Regions from separate parts of the Homo sapiens genome. Here all the other regions are linked to region 4. Evidence: promoter capture Hi-C in 16 types of primary human blood cells and fetal thymus (Javierre and others, 2016). All regions are on one chromosome and are shown on one strand. The core of a region is centred on a gene start or on the middle of the fragment in contact, and the rest is flanking DNA. Distances in the headings are between cores, read along the strand shown. Region 1 overlaps NPHP3 (nephrocystin 3). Region 2 holds the start of SRPRB (SRP receptor subunit beta). Region 3 holds the start of ANAPC13 (anaphase promoting complex subunit 13). Region 4 holds the start of CHCHD6 (coiled-coil-helix-coiled-coil-helix domain containing 6).

Region 1 (4,183 bases), core at 1,494-3,993, 6.0 Mb before region 4:
TAGGAGTTTCACCCCCCTCCCCACCATAAAAATTTTAAGTGGGTCTCCAAAGTGGGGCTCAAGTGTCGGTTTCTTTGTAAAGTTTCATCGCTCTTGCATTTTAATGGTCTTGACATGAAAATTTCTGGAAGCCTCCTGATCTCACCATGGTTGAAAACCTTCTCTAGATGTAGTCAAATTTCCCTAGTCCATTTGATTAATTTACGCTAAAAGCAATTATTGCATGCCCTCCATGTAGCAGGTCCATTATAATTCAATAAAATAGTATGTAAAGCAGCCGGGCGTGGTGGCTCACGCCTGTAATCCCAACACTTTTCGAGGCCTAGGCGGACGGATCACCTGAGGTCAGGAGTTCGAGATCAGCCTGGCCAACATGGTGAAACCCCGTCTCTACTAAAAATACAAAAATTAGCCGGGCATGGTGGCACGCGCCTGTAATCCCAGCTACTCAGGAGGCTGAGGCAAGAGAATTGCTTGAACCCGGGAGGCGGAGGTTGCAGTGAGCCGAGATTGCACCATTGCACTCCAGCTTGGGTGACAGAGCGAGACTCCGTATCAAAAAAAAAAAAATAGTATAAAGCAAGAGGTTGCTTTTCTGTGAACGAATCTCTAAAACTTTTTGCCCTCAGTTTGGGGCCCCTCTGGTCGTTGTTGTGTCGTTTGTGTACTCTTTACTGTGGGAGAGACTTATAGGCAGCCTAAGAGTTCCCGGAGTCGTTACAGTCGGGGTGAAATAAATACCTCAGACTGATTTTTCTAAAAGAAAAAAAGCCTCCTGTCTTCAAGACTAGACATTCTTCTAGTCAGGTTTTGTTGTTGTTGTTGTTGTTGTTTTTGTTTTTAAACTCCCTCATTAGCTGTTGTGTAATTATTGTCGTTGTCTGGGAAGAAGTCCGTGTAGCAGTTTATCTGTTGTCTTATCAGTTTTCCTACTGGGCAACCTTAATGCACTTGCATGTATAAAATGGACTAGTGCATTTCAAATATCTGATTCAATGTATCCAAGCCACTGCCCAACAGACACCGCACGTTGGAAACAACTGTGAGGTGGGGGTAGAAAAGGCCAAACCAAACAGGGCGGAGTGCAATAAGGGTTGGCAAGTGTCACAGTCACTCATGTCACCAATCCTGATTCCCTGTGAAACATACTGGTTCCTTTCTCACATATCGAGGCATGAAAAAACTTATCCATATTTATTTCATTCATTGTGTCAGACATTTACTGGAGACTTGCAGTGTACCAGGCACTGTGAAGTGCTCAAGGGATGGTGAGATGAATAAGACATAGTGCCAACAGGCACACAGTCTCTTAGAACTACTTATCCTTCAAGTTAAGCCTTACAAAATGTAATTTTTACTATCACAAAGATGGAAAAGGCATAAGGAAGTTTAAGAGCTGATGCAGTGTTTCAAAAAAAGTTAATTTCCATTGAAAGCTTAATGTTGGTCTTTATTTGTGGTAGTTCAAGCATGGTTGCGGTTTTTTTCCATCATGTTTTGAATAAAATGGCAACATGAAGTTCCTGATAATTGGTAAAATAATAAGTAGACTTAAAATTCTAAGATACGTAACATATATATATATATATGTATATATATAAGAATGTAAAATTGAGGAGCAAGACTATTTTTGTTAGGAAATAACAAGGTAAATTATTCTAGGCACTTCAAAAAACGTATCAGAAGATACTTCGAGAAAAAGAAAGTGCTTTAGAAGCGAAATACCAAGCAATGGAGAGAGCAGCAACATTTGAACATGACAGAGATAAAGTTAAAAGGCAATTCAAGGTAAATTCCTTACATTTTTACCCCCAAAGCAACATAGAATAAAATAGTATATTCTAAAAGTATATATAATATATAATGCGATGAATAAATAGAAGTAAGTCATGTAGGATTCAGGAAAGTTGTAAGAATTAGTGTAGAGCACTTTCACATTTTTGAGTTGGACGTGGTAAACTTGAGATCATTTCAAAGAAAAACGTATGAAAGTGAACATTTTAATAGTAATTTCGAAAAAAAGGAAAGCGTTTCCATATGGGGAAAAGCATTTGGAAATGTTTAGGGATGTTGTATTATTGGTATTTAGTGGGAGAGAGACAAATTTCCTAAACATCATGCAGTGCACATGACAGACCCACACCACAGACACGCATCCTGCTGGAATTCCAGTGGCTTCCAGTTGCAAAACAGTAAGGTAAAGGTACTAGGACATTCACCCTATGAAAGAGGAAATCGAGGACCAAATGAATATTGGTTTTATGAATGAAATATTTTTCCCTTAAAGTTGATGACACAACTTTTTGATTATGAAAAAGCTTTCAACATTAAAATTATTCTTTTTAAAGATTTTTAGGGAGACCAAAGAAAATGAAATTCAGGACTTACTGAGGGCCAAGAGGGAGTTGGAGAGCAAACTTCAGAGGCTACAGGCTCAGGGTATCCAAGTATTTGATCCTGGGGAGTCTGATTCAGATGACAACTGTACAGATGTCACTGGTAAGTGTATATCCTATTTATATTTTGAGCTTTCAACATGGCTGTAATGACATGTAGAGCCAACTTTGAATTCTGCTAGATTTCTTTTACTTATCTATATTAGGTTATTGCTTTAACTACTGTTGCAAATAGTGTCGTGTGTTCTCTCTGTCAGCTGCTAAGACACCTCTTCTCCACGAAGTGTATGAATTTGGGGACTGAAGTTCCTTCTACCTTGTCACTCTGCCAACCCTAACCCATAACTTTTACTCTCTAGTCTAAGATATCTACCCCAGCTCCCACCAGCACATCTGCATTTTAGCCAAGGGAAAGAAGGAAGGGGAGAACACGTTCCTTTCCCAGAAGGTACAACCTAAGATCACTTCTCAAATCCCATTAGTCAGAACTATAACTGGGAAGACTGGATAGTGTAATCAGCAGCCAGGCAGACATGTGTCCAACTAAAATGTAGTGTTCTGTTACTGAAGAAAGAAGAGGAGAATGGATATTGGAGTTACTAGTCTCTGCAATGTTATTTCTTTACATAATGATGTATTCTTTGCAACTATCATTTAGAATACTTGCCTTATAGTTCACTGAGTGGTTTCCAGTATAGCCTTGTGAACTATTCAAAAAGTATTTGTTTTATAATTAAACAAATGAAACATGTTTTCTGGAAATAAAAGCTTGAAATCACAGAGTGAAAGGGTTTACATATTCTAAGAAAATGTTAAAGTGTGATTGATACTGAAAAAAGAAAAATATTCTATTTTAAAATGCAGTGGAAAAATGTAGTCACTCTCCCATTTGTAATGAACTGTAAGTATATTCTCACAAATGGATGCATTTTGGAGTAAAATATGGTAACTGACAGTTCCTTCTTAATTTTCATTGTAGTATCATTGGAATCTGACCAACATCCTGGAATTTTTATTGCTAACTTTTAAGGAAAAAAAATGAAGGCCGGGCACGGTGGCTTATGCCTGTAATACCAGCACTTTGGGAGGCCAAGGCGGGCGGATCACGAGGTCAAAAGATCAAGACCATCCTGGCCAACATGGTGAAACCCCGTCTCTACTAAATACAAAAATTAGCTGGGCATGGTGGTGCGTGCCTGTAGTCCCAGCTACTCGGGAGGCTGAGGCAGGAAAATCACTTGAACCCAGGAGGTGGAGGTTGCAGTGAGCCAAGATCGCGCCACCGCACTCCAGTGTGGCAACAGAGCCAGACTCATCTCAAAAAAAAAAAAAAAAAAAAAAAAAGATTCTTAATGGCCAAGAGTAGCTGAGAAAATGCTCTTTTATACCCCAACACAAGTCTTAGTGATTATTTCAGTATTGACATACTCAAATGTACAGTGTTTCAAAACTATTGTAATTGTCTTGGCAAGTTAGAAACAAATTCCTTTCTAGGTCTTTTTTCATTTTTGTTTTAAACATGAAGAAGGAACACTTGAGGGGGAATGTCACCCATGTGAGATTCAAAGAGCTACAAATAGTAAGCTCAGTTTTGCCAGAGATTTAGCTCAAATAACCATTTACTTAAGGTTATCAAGGATGTAGATATTCTGACAAATATAATTGATTAGAAAATCATCATGTTCATAAGTAGCTATTGATTCAGACATTAATTTTGTTGCTCTAGGAGGTTGAGAAGGAGGTACTTCCTGCTGCAAAGAGTTTATGTCCTAATAAATTATGAATAT
Region 2 (4,293 bases), core at 1,394-3,893, 7.1 Mb before region 4:
GAACTCCTGACCTCAAGTGATCGGCCTACCTTGGTCTCCCAAAGTGCTGGGATTACAGGCGTGAGCCACCAAGCCAGGCCCCATGATTCCTTATATTTGAAATACACTCATATATACTCTGTAAGATATCCATTGCAGCACTGTTTGTAAAAGCAAAGGTTATAATAACAAAACTAAATGTCTATTAACACGGTCCAGATTAAGTAAGAATTTAATTTTATGGTATAGCAACAGAGTGGAGTACTATGCAGCTCATAAACCAACCAGATGGTACTATGTATACAAATGTAGGACAATAAGAAAAGCCCAAGTTGTATCAGCCGTATGAGAAAAATAATGGGCAGAACAGCATTTAAAAAAAAACAACAATAAAGGATATACAGACATGTTTGTATATGCACAGAACATCCGGAAGACTACATACAAAAAAAAGTAAGTCACTGCTTCTGAGGAGAAAACTAGGTAGTGGGGAAAGGAAAGGAAAAATTACTTTTCACCAAATATCTTTTCTAACCTTTTGAATTTTTGTCCCATGTGCATGTATTACCTATTCAAAACTTAAAAGGTTTAATGCCCACTCTTAAGAACTCATTGTAAAGTTGGAAAGAAGACACAGAAACAAAAAATAAGAATAAAATGTGATATAACATTACTGTACATTAAGGTACAACAATGCAGAGGAGGGCATGATTAAATCTACTGTACAGATTGTCAAGAGAATTTGTCACAAAGAATATGTTTCTCCATAAAAATAAGCTACAAATGGTACTTACATCCTCAGATGAACTCATCCTAAAAATGTCCTTAACTGACACACCACAGTAAAGTAAGACTGTCAGACTCCAAAACTCCACAAACATCTTACCCTGTTATTGTTGACTCTGTATACAGCACAGCTGTCAGTAATGGACGTCTGAGTGTCTCTATAAAGGCCTGTTAACAACTGTAAAAAAAACAAGATGGGTGATATTCAACATTTTAATAGCACACCTAAATTGAGTTATATTATTCTAAGTCTCCCAGGTGTAAGGTTAAGTAAATGAATGCTGCTTCCGACAGGTGAAAAAGACGATATTGATTTTTTTTACCTGTAGAAAAAAATCTAATTAATTGCATATTTTACTCCTCAGTGGAATAAAAACAACATTATTCTCAAAAGACAGTTAGTGGCCAAATTTGCCAAGCTTCTGTAAAGATTTTTAACCAACAAAAATGATTTGAAGCCTGGGCAACATGGCAAAATCTCATCTCTACAAAAAATATAAAAAATCAGCCGGGCGTAGTGTTGCACGCCTGTAGTCCCAGCTACTCGGAGGCTGAGGTGGGAGAATCATCTGAGTCCCAGAGGTCAAGGCTGCAATGAGCAGAGATCTCGCCACTGCACTCCAGCCTGGGCATTGGAGTGAGACACTCCCTCAAAAAAAAAAAAAAAAAAAAAATGGAGGTATTTCTTTAATGGAAGGGAAATAATTTATACTCTCAAAAAGAAGAGTTAAAAAGCAGAAAACCTCTCCTATTCACCACATTAAAATACACTGTTAAAAATACTAAATGTATTAAAAATAAATATTAGTAAAAAGAAGCCTAACTAGCCCACTATGTCAAAGAAGGATCACCCTGTGAAAAAGTGTCTTCGATAAACTGTCCTAAGAATTTGTTAACGAAGGAATTATAAACTGTAGGACACTAGCTTCTATGCCTTCTGCTATTCTGGAATGAAACTAATTAAATAAAATCCTTGAATGTGATAAAGACTAAATATCAGCATCTGGCAAGGGCAAACAGAAAAAAAAAAGGAGAAATGACCAATATTTCTCAATTATGGGTTTCTACGAGTCTTTTTGTTCTCCCAAGTAAGTCAAGAATTAACTTCCAAATTTAACAGCATCAGCTTCTTTTACAAAATAAACCGTGAGATGACAGGAATACTGGGATCTATAAAATTTTCTATTAAGCTTAACAGGGGTGTCAATGAAATCATTTACCCTGACAAAGAGCAACGTTTTCCCGGAATCACAAAGGCCAACAAGAAGAACAGCTCTCTGACTGCTCCTTCTGCTCCGGATTAACTTCCAGAAGACTGTGGAATAGACAGAGAAAAACAACAAAAATTACGCCTTGGGAATCAGTATATGTGCATGGCTGGGGTGGGGAAATTCACAGAAGTCTGTGACGAAACACCTCATTCACCTGGAACTGACTTTTATCATAATGGTTACTATTGCTGTTGTTAGGGATCCACTGAGAGCCAGGCACTGTCAACTGTCAACTTTTCTTTGCAGTCCTTACTCTGACTGGGACTCAGGTGCTATCTCACTACCTTGGTATCCCAGCGCCCGCACGCAAACACGGGAGGCTGAAAGTTGGTGTCAAGACCCTGAGTCTTTGCAGTGAGAACAGCGGAAGGCGAGGAACAGCGCGCTCAAGCGTAACAGGGCAGATGACGAAGAGCAATCTGCGCCCCAAGGACCAGGACGTTAACTCCGGGGGTTGCCCGGCATCCCCCTTAACGCCCAGCTGCTGCCGCTGCTTCAGGAGAGAGGGTGGGGTGTAGACTGGGTGGGTCTCACCCTCCTGATGCCCTCAAGGCGCCCTCTCAGCCCCGCGTCCCCGGCCTGCAGCGGTGCAGCCAAAGCCCGGACCTCTGCCCGCCCCAAACCCGCCATGACCACCGGCCGCCTTTTACCTAGCGTCAGCAGCACCGCAAGAACCGCCACCACTACTGACAACAGCGTTGGGTCCGTCTGCTGCAGCTCCTGCCGCAAGGTGTCTAGGTAGGGCTGGAAGGTGCCCCCGGCACCGCCGCCATCTGCCACCCGGCGCGAGTCCGCGGAAGCCATGGATGAGACGCGTGGTCCCCGGTACAGCAAAAGCGACGTGGCCCTGCACTCTGCGCAGGCGCGGGGAGCAGAGCCTCACGCGAATGGTGGTTCCTAAGCCATAGTCTCTCCCTCAGCCGCGGCGATCCCCCAAGTGCTTGATGGGAGTTGTAGTTCTCTGGGACTCCGTCCTCCTACAGAACGATAGGGGCAGACAGGTTATTTGTCGAGGGACACACACATCTTTTAAGAGATGAGTCAGTCGTCGTCACCTACGTTATGACTGTTGAAAGAATGATGAAATGAATAAAATGAATGAATGGCTCCCGAAACTACCACTGAGGAGTTCCCGACCGTCGCTAAGTGACGTGAGACTTGTGAAGAACTCAAGCATCCTACAAACATTTAATCTGAATTTAATGTGACAAGGGATGTGACAGATGGATGTACGGAGCGATGTGGGAATACATAATGGGACGCGGAGTCCATCATGAGTTCAGAGAAAAGCTTCTGGACATTGGAATTGAGTCCTGAAGAATGAGTTAGCATCTGCGAGTGGTTAAAGGAAAAAAAGGTGCTGTGCAGAAGAAAATGAGTGTAAGAAACGATGTATGTGGGAACCCTAAGTAATTCAGTGCCCCTACACTGTCAATCTAGGGCTGCAAACTCAAATGTCTGCATTAAAGGAAGCAACTAGGAAAATCAACGCCCAGGAGAGCTGGGGCTGTTGAAAACTGCAGGAGGTATTTCTGCTGAAAGTAGGGCCGACCCTATTCAGCCAGGTAGGTGTTATGGGACCTGGGTGGCCGGTTCTTCCAGTTTTCAAGAGAAGCAATAAAGGCAGATTTTTATAGGAAATTTTCCACTTTTGAAATTTTCTGTAGGTAATTGAAAGCATTCAAAAACTTGTGGCCCAAATAAAACACCAAAAGTGGCCAGCCTAGAGGGTCCCAGTTCACAGTCTCTGTCATTAAACAGCTGTCATTGTTTTAAAATGTACACATTATTTAATTTAATTGTATGGCTGAGTAGAGACATGAAGATGTCAGTGTCACTGAAAGATTGAAAAAAGTTTATTACAGTTCCACATTGCCATTGAAAAAGTTGTCAGCATCAAAATGGAGTCACTTGTATTTTTTTTTTTAATCAGAAAAATGGAGCTGGTGAAAGGCCATGGAGGGAGGGTTCTCAGGCACCCATGCCTGATGACAAAAACTGTCACAAAAGACTGCAAAAACCACAGACTTGCACAAAGGCCATCGCAACCTTACACACAAAAAAATACATCTGTTAGGACGGCTACCCAGCAACTCCCTGTCCAACCTAGTACTGATGCCATCCTTGCCATTTGATCCTTGTAGCCAAGGATAATTATCTTAAAACAATTATGGAATCTGACTCATTTTTTCTTTAAAAATCTTTGTCTTCCTTTACACCCCCCTGAATATGCACATAGTTGACTATGGCATGCGTA
Region 3 (3,831 bases), core at 680-3,179, 7.8 Mb before region 4:
GCTATAACTATGAGGGAACAAATATAGATTAAAAGATGTCAAATGTGCATCACCCAAACACAATAGGCAGATCCCTGTGGGATTTTGGTTCAAACAAGCTAATTGTAAAAAGACATTTAAGAGACAGTTGAAGAAATCGTTATCTGACTGGATATTGACATTAGAGAATTTTTATTAATTTGTGTATGTGTAATGACAGTACTGTGGCTCTGTAAAACTGAAAAACCTAGCTCCTGATGGGGGCGGGGAGGCGGACTAAAATAACATAAAGATCGGAGATTCAGTTCCTGAAACCTTCTGTCAATGTTGGCTTTAGCTGAATTTCAAGTCAAGTTGACATTTTTTGAAAGCAGGAAGCAATGACAGAGTGGACTACTGATGCTGTCACCATCTGCCAGCACAACATAAATTAGAACAGAAAGGACTAAGCAAAGGTCTTCCACCATTTTAACGAGAGGAAATGGCATCAGTACAATCAACATACACAATTTTTACAAACAACTTTTAGATTTGCATCTACATACATTTTAAAAGGCAGTGTGCCTGTTTATAAATCTCTACTCTAATTTAGTTTCAGAGCTTTTTACTACCCTGATCACTGATAATGCCACAGTCAAAAAGCAAACTCAAAATAAAAATCAATCTAAAAATGGTACTGCATGCCAAATAAGAAAATATATACACTTTATCATTAAGCTACAGCTAACAGAAATCTAATCAACGATCCTTATGATTTCCTCGTATCTAAAAAATAAATGCAAGCACTTGAGGAACTGTATAAATACAGGGCATCTACCCTACAATACTGCTTTATTAAAATAATAAATTCTTTTAATAAGTTTAACCAGACATAAGGCTCAGGGAAAACTACTCTGTGCATATCAGCGTACGGTGCTGAAACTGTAAAAGACGACCTGTCTCTGACATCATACTCATCTTTACTCTCCTGATGTCGTAAGGGACGTAAGAAAAACCACATTATAAGCCTAAATGTACTGTCTTCAAGTATCTCCATGATTAAAGTGTTCCTAAGAAACCGTCCTTATTTCTTTCTATCCCTCATTTGTGTGCATGGAGCCGTTAGTTCAGGGTTCTCCAATTTCAGTCCACGATTTATGCCACATTTCCGTACCTCTTGTACTAACATAACCGTTTAAACCAACTCACTATTTTAAAAGCTGCCAACCTTAACATGCCACACTAAATGAGCGGGTCCCCTTGTGCCGTGAATGAAGTAGTCCCAACAGCGCTAGCTAGACAGCAGCCCTGGCAGGGAGGCCGCACTGGGGTCTCTCCGCTGAAAAGGAAGGTGGGTCCGCCGGGGAAGGTGAGTACTGGGCGCAGCTCGCTCGCCCACCTGGCCACTCTCCGAAGCGCCCCCAGCCACCTGGACTCCGAGGAAGGGCTGACCACCTGGCGGGGCCGAACCCCACGCCGGGCTGCGCCACGCCAGACTCCGCCAGTGTGCAGGGCATAGCGGGCCAGGCCGAGGGACTGGGCTTCGGGGCGGACCCAAGCCGGCGGGGACGCGCCTGGTGGTTCGCAGGCCGTTGCGCAAACCGGCCGCAAGCCATGAGGCCGCGAAGCCAGAATCACCAAGGCAGCCTGGGCCGCCTCCAGACCAGGACACGGCAGCCCCTTGCCCCTCCAACTTGCGCACCGGCGGTTACAGGGTTGCCGCAAGCACGCCCCTGAGCCTTCCCGCCGTTACCTCGGGCCGGCGCTGCGCACGCGCGCCACCGCTAAGCTTACGTCCAGCCTCTGTAGTCGGCGCGTTTGTTCCGCCCACTGCCCCCACACTTTTAATAATTGAAACAATGCCTTCTCCAGACTTCCCCTGCACGCGAGCAAATGAACTCACCCACATCCGGGAATCCGAGGAAAGCGAGTGCAGACACGTGATGCGGGGGAGGGGGGGGGGGCGTGGCAGGAGCAAGCGTCTGCCGCGGTGGCCGGGTGCCGGTAAGGGTTTCCAGCGCCCCCGGCCTAGGTTTTGGAGGCGCGGGAATGCGTTCGTTGCTCAGTGTCGGACTTCCCCCTATTCCCATCGGCCGAGGCTGTCACTTTACGCTCATAACCGTTTTTCTTTACTGCACTCGTGTCGGGAGGAAAGGGACTTGCGTGGCACCCCCAGACCTCCCCGTCTCCGCTTCCACGTTTGGTACATCCTGCCTGAGGCAGGAAGCCGCAGCTGAGGGACGGCCTGTCGTACGGTGCGGATGGTGGTGGCCTGCGAGGCTCATTTCTAGCAAGGAACAAGGCTTTCCCGCTTTGATTTTATAAATATTATGTTTACAAAGCTGTAATATATAGAAATTGATAAGACGTGTCCCTGTCCCTGGAAACGCAGGCACCGCGTGTTTGGAAAGACATTCATCTGGGCTGTTTGACAGACTCCCCAGTTGGTGCCATGCTCTGTGCTTAGGGAACTGTGAGACCCCTGGAGGGGTGGGTACCGGGACCGCACTCAGCCTGGGGTTTGGAGGCGGCCTCCTATAGGAAGCGACCTGGGACCTAAGATTTTTAGACTGACTGTGGGTTCACTGGAATAAAAAGGAAGAAACAAAGAGCATTGCAGGCATCGGGACTGTCACGTGAGTAAGAAAAGTTTGTTCAGGAAACAGTGGTCGTACTGGGTGACGAGTACTTGGGACGGTGGCTTTAATACACAAGATAATCAGTGTGCCCTGGGCATTGATTATCTTGATGCTTCCCATCCTTCCAGCCCCTTATGAGGGAAGGCACCTTCGCGCCTAATCCCGGAAATGGGATGTTGACCTTCAAGAGCTGACGCCTGCGTTTATCTTGAAAGGAAGAGTGGCATTAGTGATGTGGAAAAGGGGGTTTTAACTGTCAAGGCTGGAAAATGTGACAGGGTTGGAGGTGTTTGGAGAAGGGACAGGTGAAAAAGATTGAGACCAAATGTGGAAAGATCTACTAAGGAATCATGGGTACAAAATGTACACGTAACAGTTGGAGGCAATAATACCTGAGCAATTGACCACAAAGCTGACCTAGCTTGTTTAGTAGATTAAGTTAGGACAAGAAGCAAGAGTTCAAGGATAGAAGGCCTACTGAAGCTCGAGTGATTTGAGAAAACTTTACAAAGGTGGAAAATCTACGTGGGCCTCCGAAAGTCAGGTTTGGATCAGCTGAGGAAAGTGAGAAGGGTATCCCAGGAGACAGAGCAGCAAGGACAAAGGAGTAGCAGCAGGAAAGTGGGGAGCACTTGTAAGACAGGGACTTCAAAAGTATAACCAAAACTTCGTCTTGCTTTGAGTTATCCACTGGGTAGTACTCGGTTAATTATTGAGTACTGGATTAATTAAGCCCTCACCTGGCTCACCGGTGACAGAAGTAGCAGGGCGCATTTTGCTTAACTTTTGCCGAGATCCTTGTCATGGGGGTGTAAACCCTTTCCCACACCAATCTGTGTATAATTTTTGCCAAGGTGTTAGGGATATCTTGCAGTTATCCTATGGGGGACAGCTGTGAGCCTTTTTGGTTTTTTTTGTTTTTTTTTTTCCGAGACGGAATCTTGCTCTGTCGCCCAGGCTGGAGTGCAGTGGCGCGTGGCGCTATCTCGGCTCACTGCAAGCTCCGCCTCCCAGGTTCACGCCATTCTCCTGCCTCAGCCTCCCGAGTAGCTGGGACTACAGGCGCCTGCCACCATGCTCGGCTAATTTTTTGTATTTTTAGTAGAGACGAGGTTTCACCCTGTTAGCCAGGATGGTGTTGATCTCCTGACCTCGTGATCCGCCCACCTCGGTCTCCCAAAGTGCTGGATTACAGGCGCGAGCCACCGCGCCCGGCCCTGTGAGCCATTTTTAC
Region 4 (4,044 bases), core at 512-3,011:
GTGAGGTCCACAAAACTATACAACGCCTAGCAAGCACCAAATGTGCCAAGTACTCTGCTAGGCTAAGAAGAGAGGCCTCCACAAAGCACTCTCTCTGTGCGTTTCCTTAACACTTTCACAGACATCATCTTATCCTAGGCAGTACCTAGGATACATACACACCCAATTTTTTTTTTAATGTGGCCATTGAGGCTCAAAAGAGTTTTTTACCCAAGGTCACACAGCTAATGAGCACCTGCCAGAACTCCTGAAGTCTGTCTTTCTAAGCCACCTCCCTAATTCCTCCTTAATTAACTAATTCATCTACACCCAGCTCTGTGCGTTTCATTTAATCCTAGTCCCTTTTACTGGGTTCATTCATCTCTCCACAGTTACTTACAAAGCACCTGCAGGTGTAGACACAGGTGGAGGAAGAGGCCGAGCACAGCAACATGCCCTGGAATTGGCTTGTTTCAATCCCAGCTCTCCCACTTACTATTTACATGATCTTGGATCAGTTCGTTCACCTCTCAGTGCCTCACTTCTCCTTAATCTACAATAATGGGCTAAATAGGGCTGTTGAAAATTAAATCAGTTAACTTATAAAGGGTTTAGTCCAACGCATGGCCCCTACACTGCAATAAGAGCTGCTTTTATTCTTCTGGGTTCTGGGGACAGTCTTCAATCAGACAGGAACCTTAGCCTCAAAAAGCTTACACTCTAGCAGTAAACGCAATAAACAAGTAAACAATTATCAACAGAAGCGATCACTGTGATGAGTGCTATGAAAATAATAAATGTTGGACGCGGGGTGGGAGGTTACTTCAGATTGGGTGGTCAGGGAAGGATTCTCTGGTGATATCTGAATTACAACAAGAATTACAAGAAACAGCGGGATTTAAGGAGAGCTGAAGGAGAGAGAACAGCCGGCGCACAGACCCTGAGCTGAGCCAGCGGCACCCTCCAGGAAAACACGGCGGTCCTGAGGCTGGGGACGAGGTGCGGGTGCCACGCGAGGGAAATGGCACGAGATGCAGTCCCAGAGGGATGCAGTCCCCAGAGGTCGACGGGCAGCGGCCAGCTTTGGAACCAGGGAAGGCATCATCCAAGCGCGCTAGGAACCCACTGGAGGGTTTCAGGCAAGGAAGGGGATCAGATCTGAGCTATGGTTCTTCCTGCGCCCCGCAGATGTGCTGTGGAGAACAGGCCGGCGGGGAAGAGCTGAGTCCCCAGGCAAAGCCCAGGTGGGAGACACCGCGTACCCAGAACGAGATGCGCGCACCTGAGGGGCCACGGGCTGGGAGGCCGGGCGCAAATTCAAGAAACGTAAAAACTAAGCCGACCGGAGCCAGGACGTGGCCAGGGCGTCCCTCGTGTCCCAGGGGCCTCGCACCTGTACAGTTCTTCACTCCTCCTTCCCTGAAGCCCATGTCGCGAAGCTCCAAGGCTGCCAGCCTCGGGCTCGCGTCTCGGCTCAGCCTCTTCCTGGCCTGAGCCCCCGGAGTCTCCCAAGCCCCACGCCCCTCACGCGTGGAAAGAGCCCCGGCCCTGCGCTCCGCCCCGCACCTCCCCCCCGCGCCCGCGGCCTCCACGCCCGCCCCGGCCCAGGCGGCGCCGCTCACCCGGACACCCTGCAGCACCCGGACCCGCTCCTCCTCGTCCACTCCGAAGGACACCCTGCGGCCCTCGCTGCTCTCCGTGCTCCCCATGGCGAGATGCCGCAGGGCCGGCAGCCACCAGACCCGAGACCCGGCTCCAGAGCAACCGGGCCAACAACGCTTTCCAGGACTCGCGCGGCCGCGGCACACGCCAACAAAGCCACGTCCTATTGGCCGACGCCAGAGGCTTCACCAATCGGGTGGCGCTGAGTCGCGGTGCCTTGTGGGGATTGCAGTCCTTCCGTCTGGAGGGGTGGGGGCGTGGCGGTCTGTGCCTGCTAGAGTGCGTTAGGCTGAGGCCGAAGATGTGTACCGGCGGAGGCCCTGGAGTGGAGGGCTGGGTGCAGGACAGGGTCACGTTCTCGCTTTGGGAGCTCCCCCTTGAGGGAGAGCCAAGGGTGATGTTCTGAGGCCAGGAGACGCCGAGACGGCCAAGGCGCTCATCTGGAGGCGAATTTCTGAGGGTTCACTGCTCCATTCATTCAGCAAACACGTGTAGAGCAGCACGGGCTGAGCGCCAGACGAGCAGGGACCTGGCCCTGGCATTACAGCGCCCCTCAAGACAGCGAGTGTCCTGCCCTTGAGAGGTTTACAGTGCAAGGGGAAAACAAGTGAAAAGCCAAACACGCACGCAAGGAAACTGACTGTAATACACGGAAAACTGCATGGCGATGCCACTAGTAAAATGAACAGAAGGAGGCCTCTTTTAATTTCAGTGGCCAGAGCAACCTCTGAGGAAGAAGCTTTGAACTGAGCCGGCGGGAGAGTAGGATTTATGTAGAAAAAGGTAGGGGAAGAGGTTTCCTGGGAGTCTCAGGCAGGAAAAGAGAAAGAGGGGTCATCCCATGGCTGGAAAGTGAGAAGAGGGCAGAGGAGTGGTGAGGACCCAAATCATGTCGGGTCTTGTGAGGCAGGGTCTGAGTGTGGGTTTTATTCTAAACGCCCCGGGAGGACAGGGAATGGTCCTAAGCCGTTAGGAGGCATTGCCCAAGGAGTGTACATACCATGTGTGGAGTGCAGTGTGCCAGGCATTGTGTGTAGGCTTCTTACACAGGACCCTATGTGTAAGGGAGCACACAGACGGTTGCCAGTCATAGACACTGCTACCTTCAAATAAGCCCCTTTTTGTTCCTCTGAGTTGCTGAATGGCTTTGATTTGCAAAAGTGCGCCTGAAGCCGAGCTGAGGAAAACTAGATGGCTACATGAAATAGCCAGAAAATATTTGGAGCTCCTATTGGCAACCTGGAAAGAAAGGGGTGAGGAGGAGAGAATGATTGAGAGAGAGCAGTAAGGCTCTGAGATTGAGAATAGCTCAGGGTGAAGAAGCTAGTAAACATCCCAGAGCTGGTGTGACGATGGAATCTTTAGGAACAAAGGTGTCTGCTAGTTTCATTCAAAATACTTCATTGGCGCACCCCACTCCATCACCTCTGTCGTCCATTTCTTCCCTATAAGCAGAGCCTGCGTAGGGGATTCTGGTGCAAGGAGTTTCCTGGGGGAGCACCTCAGGAGAAAGGAAGTTAGGGAGACAGGCTAAGAGGGGTGGGGACCGGGGGCCGCGGGGAAAACTGAGTAAAGATGTGGTCAGACCTGGTCCTGGGCTTTCCTTTGTCTCTTTTCCTTGGAGGTTTATGATTACTAATTCAATCTCCTTACTCGTTATTGGTCTGTTCAGATTTTCTGTTTCTTCAAGACTCAGTTTGGATAGATGGTATGTTTCTGGGAATTCGTCCATTTCTCCTAAATTATCCAGTTTCTTGGTGTATAATTGTTCATAGTAGTTGATTATGATCTTTTGTATTTCTGTGATATCAGTTGTAATGTCTCCTCTTTCATTTATACTTTTGTTTATGTGAATTACCTTTTTTCTTGGTTAGTCTAGCTAAGGTTTGTTAATTTTGTTGATCTTTACTGTTGATCTTTTCTGTTGTTTTTCTAGTTTCTATTTCTGCTCTCATCTTTTTTATTTCCTTCAGTCTGCTGACTTTGGGGCTTAGTTTGTTCCTCTTCTAGTTCCTTGAGATATAAAATTAGGTTGTTTGATGTCTTTCTTTTTTCTTAATGTAGGTATTTTTCGCTATAAACTTCCCTCTTAAAAATGTTTCTATTGCATCCTATAAGTTGTGGTACCTTGTGTTTCCATTTTCATTTGTCTCAAGATACTTGTTTATTCCCCTTTTGATTTATTCTTTGGCTCATTGGCTGTTCAGGAATGTGTTGTTTAATTTCCGCACATGTGTGAATTTTCCAAAGTTCTTCCTATTACTGATTTCTGACAACAAACTATTCAAAAAGAAATTAAGAAAATGATCCCACTTACAATAACACCAAAAAGAATAAAATATGAATAAATTTAACCAAGGAGGTGAAAGAAAGATGCACACAAAAAATTGCACACTAAAAATT

Evidence for each region. The method cuts DNA at HindIII sites, captures the fragments that hold promoters and counts their contacts. A CHiCAGO score of 5 or more calls a contact.
Region 1: a contact is called between a fragment that was not itself captured here and the fragment with the promoter of CHCHD6 in region 4, in 1 of 17 cell types (naive CD4 T cells). The highest score is 5.8, in naive CD4 T cells.
Region 2: a contact is called between a fragment that was not itself captured here and the fragment with the promoter of CHCHD6 in region 4, in 1 of 17 cell types (naive CD4 T cells). The highest score is 6.1, in naive CD4 T cells.
Region 3: a contact is called between the fragment with the promoter of ANAPC13 here and the fragment with the promoter of CHCHD6 in region 4, in 5 of 17 cell types (activated CD4 T cells, total CD8 T cells, naive CD4 T cells and 2 more). The highest score is 13.1, in activated CD4 T cells.

The regions. Positions count from the first base shown.
Region 1 is chr3:132,717,310-132,721,492 of GRCh38, reverse strand. NPHP3 (nephrocystin 3) reads left to right here. Exons shown (of 27, transcript NM_153240.5): 2 at 1,663-1,788; 3 at 2,349-2,499. NPHP3-ACAD11 (NPHP3-ACAD11 readthrough (NMD candidate)) reads left to right here. Exons shown (of 45, transcript NR_037804.1): 2 at 1,663-1,788; 3 at 2,349-2,499. Among named protein-coding and RNA genes, the nearest start is that of NPHP3-AS1, 2.3 kb to the left of the region's middle. The HindIII fragment of the contact is 846 bases long and covers 2,321-3,166 here.
Region 2 is chr3:133,804,396-133,808,688 of GRCh38, reverse strand. SRPRB (SRP receptor subunit beta) reads right to left here and starts at 2,874. Exons shown (of 7, transcript NM_001379313.1): 1 at 2,687-2,874; 2 at 1,986-2,080; 3 at 866-943. The coding sequence starts at 2,840. LOC105374116 (a long non-coding RNA gene) reads left to right here and starts at 3,206. Exons shown (of 3, transcript XR_924513.3): 1 at 3,206-3,601. RefSeq lists enhancers at 2,313-2,422, 2,453-2,502, 2,613-2,822, 2,963-3,022, 3,113-3,222. The HindIII fragment of the contact is 1,371 bases long and covers 1,958-3,328 here.
Region 3 is chr3:134,484,083-134,487,913 of GRCh38, reverse strand. ANAPC13 (anaphase promoting complex subunit 13) reads left to right here and starts at 1,929. Exons shown (of 3, transcript NM_015391.4): 1 at 1,929-1,962. It overlaps CEP63 (centrosomal protein 63), which reads right to left and starts at 1,857. Exons shown (of 15, transcript NM_001353108.3): 1 at 1,712-1,857. RefSeq lists enhancers at 925-1,743, 1,835-1,944, 2,025-2,124, 2,155-2,274. The HindIII fragment of the contact is 3,493 bases long and covers 1,750-3,831 here.
Region 4 is chr3:126,701,957-126,706,000 of GRCh38, reverse strand. CHCHD6 (coiled-coil-helix-coiled-coil-helix domain containing 6) reads right to left here and starts at 1,761. Exons shown (of 8, transcript NM_032343.3): 1 at 1,602-1,761. The coding sequence starts at 1,688. RefSeq lists enhancers at 510-1,061, 2,122-2,181 and a silencer at 1,372-1,571. The HindIII fragment of the contact is 1,689 bases long and covers 694-2,382 here.